2 separate regions of the Homo sapiens genome follow, and region 2 is linked to region 1. The links are contacts of gene promoters, found by promoter capture Hi-C in blood cells and fetal thymus (Javierre and others, 2016). All regions are on one chromosome and are shown on one strand. The core of a region is centred on a gene start or on the middle of the fragment in contact, and the rest is flanking DNA. Distances in the headings are between cores, read along the strand shown. Region 1 holds the start of FUCA1 (alpha-L-fucosidase 1). Region 2 overlaps ELOA (elongin A).

Region 1 (7,645 bases), core at 3,354-5,853:
AAAGAAGATAATTACAGGCAGTACAACAAAGGAAATATGCAGGTTCATGTCATGTAATAGGGATTAATTGAGTTAACTCAATAAACGGTAGGATAGACCTACCATGTGCCGGCTCACTTTTATTGAGCCTTTACTATGTGCCAGGCAGGGGGCTAAGTGTTTTTAAATGCCTTATTTCACTTCATGTTTCCCAACAACCTAATAAGAAGGTCTTAGTTATCTTCATTTTACAGATGTGGCAACCTCAAAGATGCAAAGTCACTTGTCTAAGGTCACCCTGCTAAGTACCAGAGCTGAGGTCTCCAACCTAGTTCTGTTTGACTTCAAAGCCTGCCCTCTTAACCACTAACCTTTTGTCCTAGTTCAGTCAAATTCTGCTTGATTATTGCTCATTAGGGATAATATTAGCTATCTGTAGCATCAGATTGCTGCAAAGTTAACTCATCGTAGATTCTCAATATACTCCATTTTATTAAATGGCCCCGTATTAATCTCCTGTAATAAATTTCACAAATCCAGTGGCTTATCAACAGAAATTTACTGTCTCATAATTCTGGAGGCCAGAAGTCAAAATCAAGATGTGGTAGGGCCCTGCTCCCTCCAAAAGTTTAAGGGGAGAATTATTCCTTGACTCTTTCAACTTCTGGCAGTCCCTGTCATTCCTTGGCTTGTGGAAACATCACTCCTACCTCTGACTCTGTCTTCATATGGCATTTCCTCTGTGTCTCTTGGTGTCTTTTTTTTTTTTTTTTTTTTTTTTGAGACGGAATCTCATTCTGTTGTCCAGGCAGGAGTGCAGTGACATGATCTTGGCTCACTGCAACCTCCACCTCTCAGGTTCAAGTGATTCTCCTGCCTCAGCCTCCCAAATAGCTGGGACTACAGGCACCCGCCACCACACTCAGCTAATTTTTGTATTTTTAGTAGAGATGGGGTTTCACCATCTTGCCCAGGCTGGTCTTGAACTCCTGACCTCAAGTGATCCGCCCACCTTGGCCTCCTAAATTGCTGGGATTACAGACGTGAGCCACCATACCCGGCCTGGTGTCTTTTTTAAAGAATATCAGTCACTGGATTTGGGCCCACCCTAATCCTAATAGTATGACTTCATCTTAATTTAACCAATTATATCTGTAGAGACCCTGTTTCCAAATAAGGTCACATTCACAGATTCCAGGTGGACAAGAAGTTTAGGCGGACACTATTCAACTCAGTACAGACCCAGGAACAAAGTCCACCCACTGGGCTGTGTTGAGTGGCAGTCACTAGTTTATCCTCCCTCAACAAGATGAGCTCCAGGTTGACCTCTGCATCCCCAGTGCTCAGTCAGGACCCAGCAGAGCATCTGAAGGGATCTGGTCAATATGTGTGGAACTGAACTGTTTCTGAAAAGCTCTGACGTATGTTTTGGAAAATCAAATCTTGTTTTAATCCAGACACCAATCTTTTTGTAAGGCAAACAAGTAGCATAAATGTTTAAAAGTGAATTTGCATGTTTATATACTGTCATTCCTTAAAGTTGAAGCATGCCTTTCTTTATTCATCGGTGGAATCCTTTCTCATTTTGGCAAAGAAAATGCCCAAGTGCCTGGCACAAACAAGCACTGAGTAAATACTTCTTGAATGAATAAAACTAGATTCTAAAAATCATTTGATCAAACGCAACTCCACACTTTCTACTTCTCTTCTTTTAGAACCACACTGTATTTCTGCTTTTTTTTTTTTTTTTTTTTTTTTTGACATAGAATCTCACTCTGTCACCCAGGTTGGAGTGCAGTGGCATGCAATCTTGGCTCACTGCAACCTCTGCCTCCTGGGTTCAAGCAGTTCTCCTGCCTTAGCCTCCCATGTAGCTGGGATTACAGGTACCCGCCACCATGCCCAGCTAATTTTTGTATTGTTAGTAGAGATGGAATTTCACCATATTGGCCAGGCTGGTCTTGAACTCCTGACTTCAAGTGATCCACCCACCTTAGCCTCCCAAAGTGCTAGGATTACAGGTGTGAGCCACCACTCCCAGCCCCTATGTCTGCTTTAAGTGGAGAAGCAGAGCTTATGAGGGAGGAGAACAAGGGTGCAAAAGGGACCTAGATATCACTGAGAACTGCCCTTGTTGTTTGGTTGAGGAAATGGGCCCAGACAGTGGACAAGACTTGCTCAGGGAGACAAACGAGATGGTGTCCAGTGCAACAAACCTAGGTTTCCTAACTTCCAGTTCTGTCCACTCTACATCAGTGCCTCTCACCTGTCCCTGCAGGTTCACATTTTGGTTATGTGGATAAGGAGAAATAAATTGAAGATCACAATGTCCCATTTTATCTTCCCCAAGACAAGCTCTGTAACATTAAAGACCACTATGCAAACCGATTACTAGAAAATGTGTGTGGATGGGTTCGGTTTTTTTCCTAAGGTGTTCATGCTTACTGTTTTGGGCAATATTTCAACATAATCTGGCAGAAAAAGAAACAGAAGATAAAGAAAATAGCTGTAGGCCGGGTGCAGTGGCTCATGCCTGTAATCCCAGCACTTTGGAAGGCTGAGGCTGGCGGATCACTTGAGGTCAGGAGTTCGAGACCAGCCTGGCCAACACGGCGAAACCCCATCTGTATTAAAAATACAAAAATTAGCCAGGCGTGGTGGCGTACCTGTAAACCCAGCTACTCGGGAGGCTGAGGCAGGAGAATGGCTTGAACCCAGGAGGTGGAGGTTGCAGTGAGCTGAGATTGCAGCACTGCATTCCAGCCTGGGCGACAGAGCAAGACTGCATCTCAAAAGAAAAGAAAAGAAAAAAGAAAAGAAAAGAAAAGAAAACAGCTGTGATTCAGCAATAGTCATTTTCTCTCCTTGTCACTGCCAGAGTGAGGAAGTGCTGGGTTCTGTCAACATAGGCTCTGACTTCTCATGAGGTGCAAGAAAGAAGCAGCATGAACAAAGGCATAGATTTTGCACCTGGAGACACGTATTCTAGTCCCACCTCTGACTCAAACTAGCTGCATGATCTTGGGCAGCCCCCCAGCCCTCTCTGGGCTTCAGTTCCCTCCTCGGTACAATGGGAAGGGTAGGGAAGAGGATGGTGCCTAGGATCTTCAAAGTCCCAACTCTGATGTGCTGCCATTCTCTCACTGGCATGTGGGAACTGAGTGTGCTACGTGGAGTCATGAGACTTCTTCTTCCTTTTCTTTTTCTTTTTTTTTTTTTTTTTTTTTGAGACCGAGTCTCACTCTGTCGCCCAGGCTGGAGTGCAGTGGTGCGATCTCGGCTCACTGTAACCTCCACCTCCCGAGTTCAAGCAATTCTCCTGCCTCAGCCTCCTGAGTAGCTGGGATTACAGGCGCACCCCATGCCCGGCTAATTTTTGTATTTTTAGTAGAGATGGGGTTTCACCATGTTGGCCAGGCTGGTCTCAAACTCCCGACCTCAGGTGATCTGCCCACCTCGGCCTCCCAAAGTGCTGGGATTACAGGCGTGAGCCACCTTGTCTGTTCAGAGACTTCTGACTTCCGTATTTCCCTCGCTAATGGCCTCACCTCCCGTTTGAGTATGTGCAGCATGTGCAAATTGCAGAGGAACTGGGGAACTTCCCTGCCAGGCAATCCTGGGTCCTCTTGGCTCTCCACTTCCTCCTTCCTTCCTTCCTTCCTCCTTCCTTCCTTCCTTCCTTCCTTTCTTTCTTCCTTGGTCTGGCTCTGTCGCCCAGGGGCTGGAGTGCAGTGGCGGTATCTCGGTACAAACTAAGCTATTTGAAATGCCTCGGAATTCCCAAAGAAAGCTCAGTAAATACCAGACAGATGAAACGGTCCTGCCCGCTCTCCCTCTTTCAGTACCCAGTTTTCTCTTTCCTCTCCTTTCATAACGTTTCTTCCCATCATCCCTCTACCTCCTTATTTCTGTCAGGGCTGTTAGATACCCTTCCGGTCTGTTATCTCCTCCTCCAGCCTTGTGCTACAGGACAACTCAAAAGCCCCCTATGGCTCCCAAGTGATCACTAAATAAAACTCGTGATCTCACTTCAGCCTACCCCTGCAGGATTGCTGCGGCAAAATGGACTACTCCCAGAGGCGTGATCACGGTTCGGTTCACTGCAGCCCAGACTTCCCGGGCTCAAGCGATCCCGAACCTCCCACCTCAGCCTCTCGAGTAGCTGGGACTCCAGACGTGCACCACTACGCCAGGCTCATTTTGTTTATTTTTTATAGAGACAGGCTAGTCTCCAACTTGTGGGCTCAGAGCGATCCTCCCGCCTCGACTTCCGAAAGTGTTAGGATTACAGGCGTGAGCCACTGCGTCCGGCTCAATGGACTCCTTCTTAAATGTGAGTTCTCCGCACACACTGGGCCTTGCTCACCTCCACGATTTAACCTCGCAGTTAAGTCCCTTTTCAAGGTTTTTATTCGTCCTTCAGCGAAGCGCTGTCAACGCCTCCCTGCGTCTTTCCCTTCTTGAGCACCAGAGGGCGCTCCTCCGACCCGAGGAGGAAGCGACTCGGGCCAACCTGTCCAGGTTGTCCCACCCCTTTTTCCTTCCGGGCCAATCGTTAGTCAGAGTGGGCGGAGCCGCCCGCGGGCACCTGCGCGTTAAGAGTGGGCCGCGTCGCTGAGGGGTAGCGATGCGGGCTCCGGGGATGAGGTCGCGGCCGGCGGGTCCCGCGCTGTTGCTGCTGCTGCTCTTCCTCGGAGCGGCCGAGTCGGTGCGTCGGGCCCAGCCTCCGCGCCGCTACACCCCAGACTGGCCGAGCCTGGATTCTCGGCCGCTGCCGGCCTGGTTCGACGAAGCCAAGTTCGGGGTGTTCATCCACTGGGGCGTGTTCTCGGTGCCCGCCTGGGGCAGCGAGTGGTTCTGGTGGCACTGGCAGGGCGAGGGGCGGCCGCAGTACCAGCGCTTCATGCGCGACAACTACCCGCCCGGCTTCAGCTACGCCGACTTCGGACCGCAGTTCACTGCGCGCTTCTTCCACCCGGAGGAGTGGGCCGACCTCTTCCAGGCCGCGGGCGCCAAGTGAGTGTGGTCCCGGGGAGCGGCGCCCCTTCCCGGCTCGGGCGGCAAACAGGAGGTGGGGCTGGGCGGCCAGCTGGGGCGCGCAGCTGCCGGTCGCCCCCATGACCCCGGGGCCCGCGTGTGGCCTCCTGCGGCCACAGGAGTGAGCCTGGCACACCTGATGAGGAGGAGGAGGTGCGTTTGACTGGGGACTGATAAATGAAGGTTCAGGGAGATGGCAGGCTGGGAAGCCCTGGGTATCTGCACCTGTGCACCGAGAGGGCTGAGTTAGGCCATACCTGATGTCCCTTTCAGATTGACAGCACTATCAGGACTCCAGGGTTTCAAATCAGTGGTGTGGAGCCTGGTTCTAATTCAACTGTGAACCTGGACATGTCACTTCAGCCTCCCTGCAGCCTCTTCTATGGTTGTAGAAAGGGGTTATATAAGGATACAACCCTTTGAGCCCTAATGTCTCTAAGAGGGAAAGAGAGGGGAGTTCTGGTGTGCAGTGTATTTGGGCAACAGTACAGATAGTCATTCGTTTGCTCCTCTCAATCCCTTTTACGTAGGAAGTGTCCAGGAAGGGTCTGACTCTCTCTGAGAACTGTTGGAACTTGGGGGTGGCTGGTTCAGAGAACAGAGTAGAGAGCGCTGGGGTGGGGATAAGGGGAGACCACGACCCATGAAGTTGTCAAGGCAGGGGCTTGTCCTGAAGGAGTGAGCCTTGAGAGCCCTGTATTGACAGATGTTAAGTCAGGGAGTGGTTACTATCAGCTTCTAGAAAGATTCATTCGGCTGCTGGGAGAGAAGTGGGTTGGAGAAGAGTAAAAATGGAGGCGGGGAGGTTTCCCCAGCCCCTGGCTTAGAGCAGTCTTCCATCCTTACCTTGGTTCCTCAGCCATCTTCCGGGTTTTCGTTTCTCTTGAACTTTGAATTCACTTGTACTAAAGAGAAGTTACAACTGGCATTTAGTGTTTGCCATTAAATGTATGGGAGTATAAGACTTGATTAAGCAGAGGAAGTGTTTGTCTCCTAGGGGCCTTAGGGATCCATAACTTACAAGTGAGAAAAATTAAAATCTGGGAGATAACCTCTTTCCATGCCTTTTATTTCATGGATGAGATGACTGGCCCAAAGAGAGGAAGGAATATAATGTCCTAGACTCCAGGTCTCATGACGTCAAGGTTGTTTCCACTGCACCAGGGTCTGCAAACTGGCCAGAGGGATTGGTCCTCTGCCAGTTTTTTAAGGCCCATGAGGTGAGAATGGTTTTTACATTTTTAAAGGGTTGTAAAATGTTTTAAAGAAGAATACACTACAGAGAGGAATGTGCTCCCACAGAGCCTAAAATACTATCTGGCCCTTCAAATCCTGGAGTTCCCTACTCTGGCCAATGATTGAACCATAAAGTGCATTACCTATTTTTGTGCCATAAAAGCAAATTAAATATTGAGTGATTTGGTTGTTATTTCAACACTTGCCTTTTCTCCCAGTTATTGGGTCTTTTGTCACCTCTATAATAAATGAGAGGCAATTTATGTAGGCTTGGTAAACCAAACAGCTTAGTTTTCTAGAAAGTTTTCTATTTTGTTGTTATTGTTGTTTTGAAACAGTTTTGCTCTGTAGCCCAGGCTGGAGTACAGTTGCATGATCTCGGCTCACTGCAACCTCTGTCTCCCAGGCTCAAGTGATTCTTATGCCCCAGCCTCTCAAATACCTGGGACTACAGGCACACACCACCATGCCCGGCTAATTTTTGTATTTTTAGTTGAGATGGGTTTTCGCCTCATTGGCCAGGTTGGTCTTGAACCCCTGACCTCAGGTAATCCGCCCACCTTGGCCTCCCAAAGTGCTGGGATTACAGGTGTGAGCCACCATGCCTGGCCAGCAAATGGCTTAGTTTTCTATTATCTGCCATTTCCAGTAGAGCTCTTTCTCCTTCAGGGCAAAGAATGAAAGAAAGTTAATCGTTCCTACCAGAAGTGTTGAAGAATCAGAGAGCTAAGGTGCACTTCTTTTCCCTTACCCACTCCTTCCTTCCCTCTGGGCCTCCTCCTTTGCTGGGGACTGAGGGTTGGGACTTCCTCAAATCTGCTTCCATTCTTGGAGCAATGCCCAAGGGGAATTGTGACTGCAGCAGCTTCCTGGATATCACTAATATAGTCACTGGTACAAGTACATTTGTTGTGGTCAAGTTCTTTCAGCTATTTAAAAAGCCTCAGGCATGCTGGGCAAGTTCATGCAAGTTCACTGCCCACTTCCTTTGCTCATGTGGTTTTGCTGTCCACAGGTATGTAGTTTTGACGACAAAGCATCACGAAGGCTTCACAAACTGGCCGAGTCCTGTGTCTTGGAACTGGAACTCCAAAGACGTGGGGCCTCATCGGGATTTGGTTGGTGAATTGGGAACAGCTCTCCGGAAGAGGTGAGTGTCCAGGGATGGTTACTCTGTTATCTCTTTGGATCTGGCTGTCAAGAGTTCTGTACCTCCTCTACTTGCGTGTGTTTTCTAGGTTTGCATATAGCAAGTAGCCTGAAGGGCTTTTGGCCTTCTACTCCTGTGTGTTTTCTAGGTTTGCATATAGCAAGTAGCCGGAAGGGCTTCTGGCCTTTGAATTGGCAGTGTTTGATGCTTCACAGTTTTCACGTGACCAAAGGGGACACCGTT
Region 2 (7,645 bases), core at 2,997-5,496, 110 kb after region 1:
TTATTTGTGCAGTTATTTGATAACTGTCTCCCTACTAGATGAAAGCTTCATGAGGGCAAGGGCCATGTCTCTTTTTTTTTTTTTTTTTTTTTTGAGACGGAGTTTTGCTCTTGTCCAGACTGGAGTGCAGTGGCACAATTTCGGCTCACCGCAACCTCCACCTCCTGGGTTCAAGCGATTCTCCTGCCTCAGCCTCCCAAGTAGCTGGGATTACAGGCATGCACCACCACGCCCAGCTAATTTTGTATTTTTAGTAAAGACGGAGTTTCTCCATGTGGGTCAGGCTGGTCTCGAACTCCTGGCCTCAGGTGATTCATCTGCCTTGACCTCCCAAAGTGCTGGGATTACAGGCATGAGCCACCATGCCTGGCCTTTTTTTTTTTTTTCTTTTTTCTTTTTTGAGACAGGGTCTTGCTCTTTCACCCGGGCTGGTGCGCAGTGGGATGATCTTGGCTCACTGCAGCCTCAACCTCCCCGAGTTCAAGCAATCCTCCCACCTCAGCCTCCTGAGTAGCTAGAACTACAGGTTCATGCCACCATGCCCAACTAATATTTTATTTTATTTTGTTTTATTTTTATTTTATTTTGAATGGCATGATCTTGGCTCACTTCAACCTCCACCTCCCAGGTTCAAGGTATTCTCCTGCTTCAGCCTCCCGAGTAGCTGGGATTATAGGCATGTGCCACCACACCCGGCTAATTTTGTATTTTTAGTAGAGATGGGGTTTCTCCATGTTGGTCAGGCTGGTCTTGATCTCCTGACCTCAGGTGATCTGCCCGCCTCAGCCTCCCAAAGTGCTGGGATTACAGGCATGAGCCACCGCGCCTGGCCTAATATTTTATTTTTTTAGAGACAAGATCTCACTATGTTGCCCAGGCTAGTTTCAACCTCCTGGACTCAAGTAATCTCTCACCTTGGCCCCCCAAAGTGCTGGGATTACAGCTGTGAGCCACTGTCCCCAGCCTGCCATGTCTGACTTAGTCAGTGACACAGAGTGGGAAGCAATGCAAGTATTTGCTTACTACTAAATCAACAAGCTTCCTAGTCCTGACCTAGGGACCTGCTGTGAAGAGCTATTCCACTGTGGCAAATTCTCTGGAGCAGTTCTCAAACTTCAGTGTACATTTTAAGAATTGCTTAGTGTCGGCCGGGCGTGGTGGCTCATGACTGTAATCCCAGCACTTTGGGAGGCAGAGGCGGGTGGATCATTTGAGGTCAGGAGTTCAAGACTAGCCTGGCCAACATGGTGAAACCCCGTCTCTACTAAAAATACAAAAATTAGCCGGGTTGTAGTGATGCATGCCTATAATCCCAGCTACTTGGGAGACTGAGGCAGGAGAATCGCTTGAGCCTGGGAGGCGGAGGTTGCAGTGAGCTGAGATCACGCCACTGCACTCCAGTCTGGGGAACAGAGCAAGACTCCATCCCCCCAAAAAAAAAATGCTTAGTGTCAGGCCAGGCACAATGGCTCATGCCTGTAATCCCAGCACTTTGGGAGGTCGAGGCAGGTGGATCTCACCTGATCTCACCTGAGGTCAGGAGTTCAAGACCAGCCTAGCCAACATGGTGAAACCCATCTCTACTAAAAATACAAAAGTTGGTGGTGCACGCCTGTAGTCCCAGCTACTAGGGAGGCTGAAGCAGGAGAATCACATGAACCCGGGAGGCAGAGGTTGCAGTGAGCCGAGAGTGATCAAGCTACTGCATTCCAGCCTGGGTGACAGAGTGAGACTTCACCTCAAAAAAAAAAAAAAAAAAAAAAAAAAAAAAAAAAAAAAAAAAAAAATCGCTTAGTGTCTCAGTCATTTCAGGCTACTGTAACAACTTACCATAGACTGACTGGCTTAGGCAACAAACATTTACTTCTCACAGTTCCAGAGGCTGGAAGTCCAAGATCAAGGCGCTGGCCAATTCTGTGTCTGGTGAGGGCCCTCTTCTTGGTTTGCAGACTGCCGTCCTCTCATTTCCTCACATGGTGGAGAACAAGGAGCAAGAGCAACTCTCATTTCTCTTATGAGGGAGAATCCTATTCATGAAGCCTCTACCCACGTGACCTAATTACCTCCAAAGGCCTATCTAATACTGTCACACTGGGTCTTAGGATTTCAGCATAGGCATTTTGGGGGGACACAAACATTTAGTCCATAACACTTGAGTTGCATCTTTTTAAATGCATATTCTGAGGCCCCAACCCAAGACTCTGTGCTTGAGAAACAGATACAGTGATATAAAATTTTGATGGCTGGAACTTTCCTTAGTCTTTGAAAAGAGTTGAGACAATAGACATCATAGAGAAGTTCAGGGGGCCGGGCGAGGTGCCTCATGCCTGTAATCCCTGCACTTTGGAGGCCAAGGTAGAGTGATTAAGCTCAAGAGTTCAAGACCAGCCTGGGCAACACGGCAAAACTCCATCTCCCAAAAAAATACCAAAAAATTATCTGGGAGTGGTGGTGCACATCTGTAGTCACAGCTACTTGGGAGGCTGAGGTGGGAGGAATACTTGAGCCTGGGAGGTTGACGCTGCAGTGAGCCAAGATCCCACCGCTGCACTCCAGCCTGGGTGACAGAGTGAGACTGTCTCAAAAAGAGTGAGAGAAAGAAGTTCAGGGGCCTCTGAAGACAAACTGTTTCACCATTTAGCAAATAACCAGGAAGAGATGAAAGTGGATGAGAAACCCTGTGATGGGGGCATCTGTCAAGTTGATAAGCCAGGTAGGATTCTGCTGGGCATCAGTTACATGAAGCAGACAAAAGATATCATTCTTAGAAATGACTGTTGAACTTGAGGATAAAGAATTTTTAGGCTGGGCACGGTGGCTCACACCTGTAATCCCAGCACTTTGGGAGGCCAAAGCGGGCAGATGGCTTGAGGTTGGGAGTTGCAGACCAGCCTGGCCAACGTGGTGAAACCCTGTCTCTACTAAAAATATAAAAATTAGCTGGGCGTGGTGGCACATGTCTGTAATCCCAGCTACTCGCGAGGCTGAGGCTGCAGTGAGCCGAGATCGTGCAACTGCACACCAGCCTGGGCAACAGAGCGAGACTCCATCACAAAAAAAGAATTTAAAAAAAAAAAACAGAAACGACTCTGGCCTTGGCTCAGGCATCTTTTGTTTTGGAGGTCAGCTTTGCTTCAGAGGCCAAATTGGGTATGCATGTCAGTGTATGAGATGGTAAATGTGACTGAGAGCATGTGTTTTGGAGTCAGGCCAATACATAGCACCACTGCTCACTGATTCTGTGAACTTAGGCAAGTTCTTCATCTCTCTGTGCTTCGGTTTTTCTCATTTTCATTAAAACAATTTTTTAAAATTTATTTCTACAGACACTATGGTGACTTAAGTTCTCATTTTTATTTTTTAATCCCCTGGATTTACCAGGATTAAGTTGTCATTTTTAAAATGGGGCCATGACTGTTTACCTCACAGGATCATTGTGATAACAGAGGCAGTGTACAGAAGAAGGAATGGTGGCACCTAGTAGGTGCATAATCAATAAAGTCAGTTACTCCTCCCTAACTGTTAAGTGTCAGAGTCTATTACTCCATATCCTAAGGTCTAATACAGGTCCTGGCTCAGCAAATGTTTAATTAATCGATAAAGGACAGATTTGTATGTTTGATGGAAGGTCCAATCCACTTGCTGTATGCAGGGTTGAAGCCAAATCCATGGCTCCATTAGCAAGTGCTAAAGCTCCTGCAGGTCAGCCAGAGCCACCACAGCAGGTTCTCATTAAGTCTTTGCTGGCACGACTTTCCTGCATTCATGTTCCTTCTGTACTCATTAGAACGCCCGTGTAAGCTGAGACCTACTGGTCCCTCACAGCCCGTGGAAACTGAAAGGCAGAGTGGCACAAACCTTGCAGTTAGAGAATCACGGTGTCAAATCCTTCCTTTTGCCACTTTATTAGCTACGCAACTTGGCCATGTTAATTTCACTCCTTTCCCCCCCCTCCCCGTTTGTTTTTTATTTTTTTGGAGACAGGGTCTTGCTCTGTCGCCCATGCTGGACTGCAGTGGCAATCATGGCTTATTGCAGCCTCAACCTCCTGGGCTCAAGCCATCCTCCCACCTCTACCTCCCGAGTGGCTGGGACCAAAGGTGTGTGCCACCACACCCAGCTAGTTTTGTATCTTTTGTAGAGATAGAGTTTTGCCATGTTGCCAAGGCTGGTCTCAAACTCTTGAACTCCAGCAATCCACCCTCCTTGGCCTCCCAAAGTGTTGGGATTACAGGCATGAGCCACAGTCCCTCCTAACCCCCTACCCCTGTTTTTTTTTTGAGACAAAAAAAGAGATGGGGTTTTGCCATGTTGCCCAGGCTGGTCTTGCTCTGTCACCTAGACTGGAGTGCAGTAGCATAATCACAGCTCACTGTAGCCTCGACCTCCCAAGCTCAAGTGATCCTCCCACCTCAGCCTTTCACATAGCTGGGACTATAGGTGCACCATCACACCTGGCTAATTTTTAATCTTTTTCTAGAGACAGGGTCTCAATATGTTGCTCAGGCTGGTCTTGAACTCTTGGGCTCAAGCAATCCTGCCTCCGCCCTTCAGTGTTGGGATTACAGATATGAACCACCATGCCCGGCCCCATTTCACCCCTTTGAACCAGTTTCTAATTTTAAGATGGGGTTACCAGGGTTCCAAGTATAATAAGGGACAGTGCCTGTTCCCCACAAATGCTGAGTTCCCGCCCTTTGCTCACAGAATTCTTTCCGTCTGAAATTCCTCTTACTACTAAATTCGGCATCGTTTAAGGCCCAGCCCAAGGATGCTGATTAAGATCTCTGCCTTAGGAGGGTGCGGTGAGCTGAGATTGCCTCCTCCATCTCAAAAAAAAAAACAAAAAAAAAAACTCTGCCTTAAACAGTCCAAGAATCAGGCATTTTCTAACTTCTTTCCACTGATGCTATAAGTAAGGAAGACACAGTATATGGAGTTTGTTTTTTATTTAGACATGGAATTTTCCTTTTCATATAACTTATCTAATTAAAATATTCATCTCGGTAGTTACCACAAAAAAGTAACATAGAAAATTGTATTTACATTTTGGGACCAAAATACAAATGAAGAGCAGGATGACACCTTGCTCCTTTCCCTCCCGCTTCCCAGAAAGAAAAAGCCCCAAAGAAACTGCTCAGTACACCAAGGATCACAAAAGGGTAATTTGTAATTTGGTGATTTGTATGTAGTGTAGCACAGAAAAAAAATTGCACAAGTTTTTCCATAAATGAGACCAAAGGTTCAAATTCATCCTGTGTCAGGTTCAAATTCATCCTGTGTCTGCTCTGCAGCCATTTTAGTAAGCTGGGCAAGGAGGTCATTTAGAAATTGGGTTTTTCCTCTTTCCCCTGACTCTTCGCACCAAGTCACATCCCTGATGTAGATACTCTTGGGGGAGGGGAAAACATCTGGCTCTATGCAAACAGGGCTCATCAAAAATCTTTATGTGCCAAAATGGATACTGACATTGCTATGAACAAATCTGTTTTTTCTTCCCTCCCTGCCTAAAGACTCCTAATAAGGGACATTAAATCATACACAACTGAATCTAAGATATGAAAAACTAGTTTCAATGACAAAGACTTGAACACACAGTTAAGAGATAAATTCAAGGTGGTAGACACCTAGAAAAAGCTATTCTAGGCAGCAGACATCTGGCACCTGACCCAAATGTTCATTTGGTTTCAGTTAAGAGGCTTCCTAATATTAGATTTGTGGGGCAGGCTAGGGATAGGGGTGGAATGGTGGTACAAGTAACCAAGAGAAGTAAAGTAATGCTTTACCCATTCAAAAATATAGCAAATTAAAACATAGTAACATTTGTGTCCTGTCACAATAGGCACCCTGCACAGCAATACACACTGAACAATGTCGAGTTTCTGCTGAATAGACTTCCTACGTTGCTCTGGAATTCGAAGTTGGCCTAACTGAGGTCTCCAGTTACAGAAAACACTGGCTCTGTATCCTGGGCTTTGAGAAAACTTATCAGGCTGTCACACTTACCATCCCTTCAGTCTGCTTGTCAGGTTCCTTAAGGACGCATATCTCAAATGTATGGCATCTACCTCTACCTGGGTCACAACCAAGTGGGTTTCTACTAGATCGGTGTTCCTTGACAGCCAACAAGGGAGCTGACACTGCCCTCCTAAGTTCTGATCTTGCTCCTGTTCAACTGGAACTTGATGGATCCCATGTGGTTTCCCCCATCCTGACGCTGTGGCTCAGACACTCTCCCTAAGCTGGTCCTTCCCTCCAAATCCTGCCTTAAACACACTCAGAAGGTAGAAAACACTTCAGCAGCAAAGTCCTCTTCCCAAGCCAACAGTTGTGTTCTTCCAATCACATGATCTTACCTTTTCAATAAAAGGCAAAACAAACCAATTTCCAACATAGCATTACAGCCTTTAAAACCATTCACTTCTCATAGTGATTCACAGAGAACAAGAGATTAAAGTGCTGGATTTTAAATGTCTAAAGTTGCCTTCAGGGCTACAAAAAGCCCTGCCGTGTGTGTTTTTCCTTCATGGTGTTGAGGGGAAGGAAAGATAGGGAAGGGCAGTGGGGAGAAACCCTAAAATTTTCAATCAGAAACTGGAAATTGTAAAAGTGGGAGGTGGGGAGTTCTGTGCAAATCAATCTCCCAAGGTTCTGCGTCCTCTAGTGAGCCTCAAAGAAAAAAAAAAAAACAAAAAGGTGGGGACTCGCAAAAAGGATGAGGGAAAGGCTCCAGACCTACAGAGCACCTCCCTTAATAAATACCAGTTAGTAAGAAAGAGATGCACCTGCACAGGAATGCACAGCAACAGTGGGGAGGGCCTGAGGTGGAGTCCGCCGAGCACCCTGTCGCCCCACTGAGGCTCCCTTGGGGACAGGCGGTCTAGTGCTCATTCCTTGCCCTACGTGCAGCAGGTACTGTGCAGGCTCTGGAGATGCCCAGTCCTCTGTCTGGACCAGAGTCCACACAGAGCTGAGCTGGGGCAGGAGACTGGCTTTCACTAGGCTTTCATCTGATTTTAATAAGGACCTGGAAGATAAAAGGCTAAATGTGTGGTAGAGGACAAAAAACAAAAACAAACCTGGGGGATAATATAAATACAATCTGGGGGCAATATTTATTAATTAAAACTACGTCTTATAGTTTACAAAGATGCTAATGAACAACAAAAGTATAATTGACCTTTAAAATCCTCAGTGAGACAGAGGCTTCACATCTTCAGAATTCTAAAGTGTGCTCCAGGCAGGGAGGCGGGGCTGTGGCACGCAGGTTCCCAGGGGCAGCACCTGCAGACTGCAGGACTCGGAGACCAAAAGGATCCACAAAGCAAGACTCCAGTCTCCTGTAGAATTCCATTCCCCAACCCCCACTGTCCTTGTATTCCTGCCTCCCCAGATTCCATTTCCAAGGCAAGTCCTCAGTTTATCGTCGGGAGAATCTGTTCTTGAAAGCTTTAATTGTCTTGGCCATCATTGGGGCAATTTCTGTGAAAAGAGAAACAAGGCAGCTGTCTCAGATCTGTGGCGGCTTAGACACACCCCCAGTAGTTTACAGTCAAAGCCAGCTCTGCTATTCTTGGCTGTGCACCACCAGGCAGAGATACAAGTAGTAACTATCTCCTCTGTTCACAATGCAATAAAAGCAACA

The links. The method cuts DNA at HindIII sites, captures the fragments that hold promoters and counts their contacts. A CHiCAGO score of 5 or more calls a contact.
Region 2: a contact is called between a fragment that was not itself captured here and the fragment with the promoter of FUCA1 in region 1, in 1 of 17 cell types (neutrophils). The highest score is 5.4, in neutrophils.

Annotation. Positions count from the first base shown.
Region 1 is chr1:23,865,248-23,872,892 of GRCh38, reverse strand. It overlaps FUCA1 (alpha-L-fucosidase 1), which reads left to right and starts at 4,603. Exons shown (of 8, transcript NM_000147.5): 1 at 4,603-4,995; 2 at 7,268-7,402. The coding sequence starts at 4,607. CNR2 (cannabinoid receptor 2) reads left to right here. Exons shown (of 2, transcript NM_001841.3): 2 at 1-2,378. RefSeq lists a silencer at 4,972-5,191 and an enhancer at 6,442-7,641. The HindIII fragment of the contact is 15,238 bases long and covers 1-7,645 here.
Region 2 is chr1:23,759,349-23,766,993 of GRCh38, reverse strand. ELOA (elongin A) reads right to left here. Exons shown (of 11, transcript NM_003198.3): 11 at 4,935-7,482. The coding sequence ends at 7,421. ELOA-AS1 (ELOA antisense RNA 1) reads left to right here. Exons shown (of 4, transcript NR_038280.1): 4 at 5,843-6,612. Among named protein-coding and RNA genes, the nearest start is that of ELOA-AS1, 15 kb to the left of the region's middle. RefSeq lists a silencer at 901-1,195. The HindIII fragment of the contact is 6,411 bases long and covers 1,041-7,451 here.